Linked DNA regions of Homo sapiens: region 2 is linked to region 1. Evidence: promoter capture Hi-C in 16 types of primary human blood cells and fetal thymus (Javierre and others, 2016). All regions are on one chromosome and are shown on one strand. The core of a region is centred on a gene start or on the middle of the fragment in contact, and the rest is flanking DNA. Distances in the headings are between cores, read along the strand shown. Region 1 holds the start of FNBP1L (formin binding protein 1 like). Region 2 holds the start of SLC44A3 (solute carrier family 44 member 3).

The links. The method cuts DNA at HindIII sites, captures the fragments that hold promoters and counts their contacts. A CHiCAGO score of 5 or more calls a contact.
Region 2: a contact is called between the fragment with the promoter of SLC44A3 here and the fragment with the promoter of FNBP1L in region 1, in 6 of 17 cell types (total B cells, non-activated CD4 T cells, total CD4 T cells and 3 more). The highest score is 14.1, in total B cells.

The regions. Positions count from the first base shown.
Region 1 is chr1:93,446,495-93,449,608 of GRCh38, reverse strand. It overlaps FNBP1L (formin binding protein 1 like), which reads right to left and starts at 1,491. Exons shown (of 17, transcript NM_001164473.3): 1 at 1,304-1,491. The coding sequence starts at 1,327. RefSeq lists silencers at 1,334-1,383, 2,323-2,617 and an enhancer at 864-1,842. The HindIII fragment of the contact is 14,675 bases long and covers 1-3,114 here.
Region 2 is chr1:94,818,890-94,822,003 of GRCh38, reverse strand. SLC44A3 (solute carrier family 44 member 3) reads right to left here and starts at 1,647. Exons shown (of 15, transcript NM_001114106.3): 1 at 1,526-1,647; 2 at 948-1,055. The coding sequence starts at 1,552. It overlaps SLC44A3-AS1 (SLC44A3 antisense RNA 1), which reads left to right and starts at 1,772. Exons shown (of 6, transcript NR_160780.1): 1 at 1,772-2,048. RefSeq lists a silencer at 1,454-1,643. The HindIII fragment of the contact is 9,215 bases long and covers 601-3,114 here.

The DNA.
Region 1 (3,114 bases), core at 242-2,741:
GCTGGCTAAGTAAAGCATTCACTAGATGGACTCTAAAGTCTCACAGTTCTAAGATTCCCAATCTATGAGTAGACGTGAAAAATAAGAAAACATTTTGCCTTTCAATTAACCCATTGGCTTTCACTCCCACCCTAGCTGGGCACACACATACTCAAAAGTTATTTCTCCCCTTTCTCTGCAGTGATTTCACGAGATCCTCGCGAACAAAAGGCACGGAAAACAGGCACAGGTGGAATAAAAAGGGGAGTGGCTGAGGCCAGGCGGCTCTCGGGACAGCGCCCCCACGCCCCCAGTTCTCCCGGCCGCACCTGAGAAATCACTGCCCTCCGCACCTGAGAAATCACTGCCCTCCACACCTCGACCCTTCCGCGCCGGCGCCAGGAGCAAATTCTCCGACCTATTACCCTCCGCCCGTACCTTGGCCAGACACTGGGCATTGTCTGGAGCCTCCTGTGCCAAAGAAAGGCAAGGAGGAAAGGAAAGGAGAGAACGAAGGAGAAAGAACAAGTGAGAATAAAGAACGGAAAGGGAAGTAAAGCAACAGGGAGACCGTACGCTCCTTTTGGTAAAATTAGCTTCCTCATCGATCACTCGATTTAATTCAGCCCCCAAAACCAACCCACCAGCCCAAAGGCTGCAGCCGGGGGTGGCCAAACCGGAGTCCCTCGAAGCTGTGCCCGCCCGAAGCACTGAGGCAGGGAGAGAGAAATGTGCGTGTGGGCTGGGCCTGGCTGGCCCGAGGCCGGGCTCCGAACAAAGCCGCCTGGGTCCCCATACCTGGGGCGAGGGCTCTGGGCGGCGCCGCCCCAGACGGGCGACGCCCTAGCCCCGCGGACCTGGCCCGGGCGAGGAATCGCGGCCGGTCCCCTCCCCGCCCTCGAACAGCGCCCCTTGGGGACAATGGGCCCCCTCCCCCGCCTCCGGGAGGAGAGATACAAAGGAAGAGAGGAGCCGCCGGGCGCGAAGCCAGGCGTCGGGAAAAGTGAAGGTGGAGGAGGGAGAAGGAACAAGAGGGGATCACGGCGCACGCAGGAGCCCGCGGGCTGCTCCCCCGGCCGTCCCGGGCGCCGCCCGAGCTGCACCACGGCGGCAAAGGCGGGAGCACGGACTAGCGGCCCCCTAGACCCCCGGCCGAGAAGGGAAGAGGAGTCTGCACACAAAGACGAGCGGGACCCTCACCCTCCGCCAGCGCCGGACCGAGGACGGCGGAGCGCGCTTTCACCGCCGAGGGTCCGCGGCGCCCGCCCAACCCGCGCTTCTCAGGGGCCGGGGTCCGTGCGGGGCGCCCCTCTCCCCGACTCACCCACAGCTCCGTGCCCCAGCTCATGGCGGAACTTTCTGGCCGTCTGGCGGTGCCGCTGTCCTTCAGTCTGTCGGCTCCACAGTCTGTCCGACCTCTCACTCGCTGGCCGGCGGGCTAGCAGCTCAGCGGGTCTACCTCGAAAGGTGCCGCCACCGCCGGGCTCCCCAGTGAGTGAGAAAGACGCGACTGGAGAAGCCTCCGCCGCCGACGCGTCCCCGCCTCCCCGCGCTGGGCGGGAGGGGGCCGGGGCCGAGGGGAGGCGGAACGCGGCGCGGGGAGGGGGCGGGGCGCAGTGCATCCTGGGATCGGGGAGGACCTGGGCTAGCCTGGCCACCGCCGGCGGGGTCCCCAAGCGGGCACCTGGTCACCCTCGCTGGCCCCTCTCGCTGGTCGAGTCTCCTCCTGCAGGTACCCCGGAGCTTGGACTGCCCCCACTCCGCTGCCAGTCGGACCCCTGTTTCCAAGATAGAAAGGGAGAGAAGGGAAAAGACCCCCACCGCCGCTATTATCTCATTCCTCCTCTGCGCTGAGCCCCTTTACATGAGGCAATTTTAGTTACCTGCCTTTCCTGCCTCTTGTCTCCTCCACTCGGGAGAAACCTTGACAGGGAAGCGTCATCCAAATCCTAGAGTTTAGACTGAGGAGAGTTGTGTTTTATTTTTTTAAATCTTGATGCTTAAGGTGATCTCTCCTTTCAAGCCTGATGCTTTGGCATGACGATTCTTGGGAACCACCAAAATGTGCACAGGTTGAACAGCAAATGTGAAGGCAACATGTCCCCGATTCTGTCTTTAATTAAATATTTTAATTTTATAAATTCTGTCAGGAAATTATAAAAAGAGGCAGCTCTTCCAGTAATCATTTAGGTATGTTGCCAGCGCACGAGATGGAAGACGTGGACAAATGTGAGCCGAGCTGTCACCTGCGGAAGATGAGAAGGCAGCTTGCCCCATGTCTGGAATGGGCACCTCGTGGGTGAGGGTTGGATGGGAGCCAGATTTTTCTCTGGTAGTGTAAACAGCTTATTCGGAACTTCAGATCTCTTTCACCTCCCAGTATCGGAACCTTGGAGGCAGGTCCACTACTTCCTTTTTTCTCTATGGAGCTACTTCCTGGCCTATCTCCATGGAAAGGCTGTTAGCTAGTTTGGCTGGTGCTACTAGATATCAAGTACGCTGAGCAACTCCCTAACATATGCTTTAGTATTAATAGCTTGTCTCCTAAAGCAAGCAAGCGCACACACACACACTTCAAAACAGTCAACTAGTAGAGTACTCCTCAGTGCGTCATGACAGCTGGGTGTTTTAGGAAGCTCTCCCAACGGGTTCTTTGTCAGCATTGAAACTCCTCCCCTACCTGGCCTGGACAGGTGTTCCAACCTCTTCCGCTTAATCCGTATTCTTTTGCCTAGCTGCGCTCCCTCTTGGAGTTGAGGCCAACAGCCTGAGTTCGCCTGACAGTCCAGTTGCTAATCTTCCTAAATTCTCTGCTGTCCTTTTCTGAGGCCACTTTAAGCATACAAATGCCCTCTTCCAAGTGGGTTATAGCCAATTTTTAAATGCTTAACTTTGTACCATGCAGTGAAAAGCCTGTGAAGGATTGAACAACACTTTCTAACATTTTTCTACATTGCCTCTATTCCAAAATAATTTCTTCGTTTATTTATGTCACCTAACACTGTTAACCGCCTCTCCCATCACTTCCTATCACTCCCTAGAATCATGAATGTATTTTGCAATTGCAAGTAACATTAATTAGTAAGGGGAAATGGATTTTTTTTTTTTTGAGACGGCGTTTCACTCTTGTCACCC
Region 2 (3,114 bases), core at 398-2,897, 1.4 Mb before region 1:
GGAGAGTTCCAACGTAAGCAACAAAAAACATCTGATTATGTGTTTCAGACCTAACCTTCCACTGTGCCTGTAACCAAGCCTGTCTATGTGAAACGGGTCATAAGTGAACAAATGCCTTTCTTACTTGGAAAGAACAAACATGATATTTTAGGGCCTATTCAGATGGAATTCTTTTCAACAAAGGTAATTACTATCTGGTAGTTATTACCCTGCTCTATAAATTAATCATTTACCATGCAGCAAATAGCATGCCTTATCCTGGCATGGATGATTTCGTGAAAGTGGCCTTTGAAAATGTCGGGTGAGACGTTTTCTGCTGTTACCTACAATTCTAAAATAAGTATAAAAGCAGCAAGATTCGGCTTCCAACAGACTCTCTCAGGATTATAACCGCATAGCCTGATGGAGTTTACCAGCAATCATACATACCTCGAAATTAGAGTGGGAAAAATCATTCCTTGTTAGCTATGGTTAACAGTGTTGGCTGCTAAACACAACATATCTCTCGCGCGCGTGTGTGTGTGATGTTCAGCTAAAGGAAATGCAGTTTATTTCTAGGCTTACCCTGGCTTTTCCTTTGTTAAAGGTGCACCAAAAGCTTGAGGAATATTTGATTTGGGGGTGTGGCAGGTGCTAAAAGAACTTCTGTTCAGTAAGTTCGGAGAGTAAAAGGAGACACATTGGCCTTACTAAATAGCAATCACATTGCAAACTGTTAATTCCCATTTCCTAATGGAGTCACCCCTTAGAACATGGCCTGTAGCAAAAAGACAGCCTTTCTAGCGAGTCTAGGACAAGAATTCTCCCGAGTACAAACTGATGTTTATTGTGGGTTAACGGCAGAAGTCTCTCACTGCAGCACCAACTACGATTTACATTTGGGACAGAGTTATTTCCAGACGTGCACACACACTCTGGCCTCTTTCCTACCAAGCACCCACACTTACCAAACCAGTCCAAAAGAGAAAGAACAGGAATAACCATGCCGTATCTGTGCATTTCCTATAAATCTGGGGTCGCCACTCCCTTTGCCTAGGGGCTCCTTCTGCAGAAACCTTCCAGAAAAAGGGAGAGTTGAGAAAAAGAAGATAAACAGGTGGACTCAACCTGGAAACCGAACCCAAATCTACTCGAAGAGGGGCCAAAGTAACCAATCTTTTTCTAAATTTTTAAAATTAATATTATTTTTTTACGTGGCCACCTGAAGCTCTTTCACACAGCCTTTGAAACACCTGCTCTGCGCGGAGCGGATGTTAAGCCCCCTGCCGCCAAGTGCTTACCTGGAGGTGCACCTGAGGACGACCCCAAGTTTGCGCCCCGCGGCCCGCGTCTCCCCCGCCTCCGCCCCAGCACTGGAGCAGGGTCCAGGTTCCTCCCCGCCAGGTGGCCCCAAGGTACTAAGCGGGGGCGGGATCCCCGAGGCGCGGGAAAGGCGGAAGCGTCCGGCAGGGAAGGTGCGTGAAGGCGGGGGACTCGACCCTTCCCCGGGGCTCCTCCCCCGAGGGCCGAGGCTGCGAGCGCTTACCAGGTACTCGGCGCCCAGGCAGTGCATCGTGCGCTCGCCGGCGGGGGCCGGTGACTGGGAGCCGCCGCCGCCTCCTGTACGCGGAGACGCAGCGCCCGCGAGCCGGGGCCGGGGCCGGGGCTGGGGCTGGGGCTGGGGCTGGAGCCGGGGCCGGGCCGGGGAGGGGCGGGCACGGTGCAGCGCCGCCTCCCGTTCGCCTCTGCGCCTGGCCCGGCGACTGCGGGCGCTGCGGTCCACTGGGTCCGCCTCTTCCCGGCATGGGTTTCTGCCCAGCTCACCCGCTGTCAGCTGGGGTCCTGCTCTGGTGGGAGGAAGAGGCTCAGACGCTTCCCTGCCCTCTCGCCTCAACCACCTCGAGGCAGCGGCTCCCAGGATGTGCACTTTGACGACTAAAGCTGAGCCGGCGCCGCCACGACCTTGGGCGGGTGGTCGGCCTCTGCCCTGAGCAGGAAGTAGAAAGTCTCAGCAGACCCTTCCTGAGGGCCGAGCAACAGTGTAGTGGCGTATTCCACATAGCAAACAGGTAAGCAGCATTTACTGTGTGCTGGATTCTGTTCTCACTGCTATTGTTATTCCTAATCTACGGAGGAGGGAAACTGAGGCACGGCCATTGGTGATGCAACTTGTTCGAGGAGACCCAGTAAGTTGTGGAGGCAGGAGTCGAACCCAGACACTCCGGGAGACCGGCGCTCTCGAGGTGGTTTACTCTGACTTCTCTCCCACCTTGCCTTAGGACAATCATTGCCTGACTTCGCAATTGAAATGGTAGTGTCCACTGAAGCGACTGGTGGCATAGTTTTCCAGGTAGTGTCAGACCAGCGCAAAAGCACTGTTGGGGTGAGGAATTTAAAAAACGAAAAACAAAAAAAACTGCAGGCCGACCTCCCCCCACCTCCTCTCAATCAAGCCTCTACCCTTCCCCCTGCCACCCTTAGGGTTGCTAGGTTAATTGCTTCCTTTAGGTGCTGCTTCTCCCTAAGGGTAGAAACCTGACTGGAGGAAAGATCTGGGTAAGTGGGAGAAACTGGGAATGATAGACAGTGGTTCTCTGGTGCCAGCGATTTCCTTCTGGGCTCACACCACCCTCCCACTGCAAACTCACTGGGCCTTCCTGGATGCATGTTTATCAGACAGAGTAGGTGAAACCCCAGGGGAACATGAATTCATAGGACAAAGAATTAGACACTGGAGGAGTGCAACTACTGTTAAAAGACCACAACTGAATAACATATGCCATCTGAAACTGATCAGTAGAGCAGATGGACCAAGATTTTTAAATAAGCATGATAAATTTATTTAAAATGAGTTATGATATTAGCAATATGAATCAGGAAAAAATATGAAACTAAAACATATTAAGCATAAAAATAATAATTAGAATGAATATTGATGCTACGTATTAGTAATGTGCAATAGTCTAAAAGATGCAGCTGACGATGAATTAGTAATTGGAAGAGCACTTTCAGCAAACCTCCAGAGGCAGTAGAAAATGTTTTAAAAAACAAGTTAGCTTATTTGTAAATTTTCTAGCTTATATCTAGGGTAAAACTAGAACAGAAAGGAAGAAATATAAAAACAGAGAAGGGGAA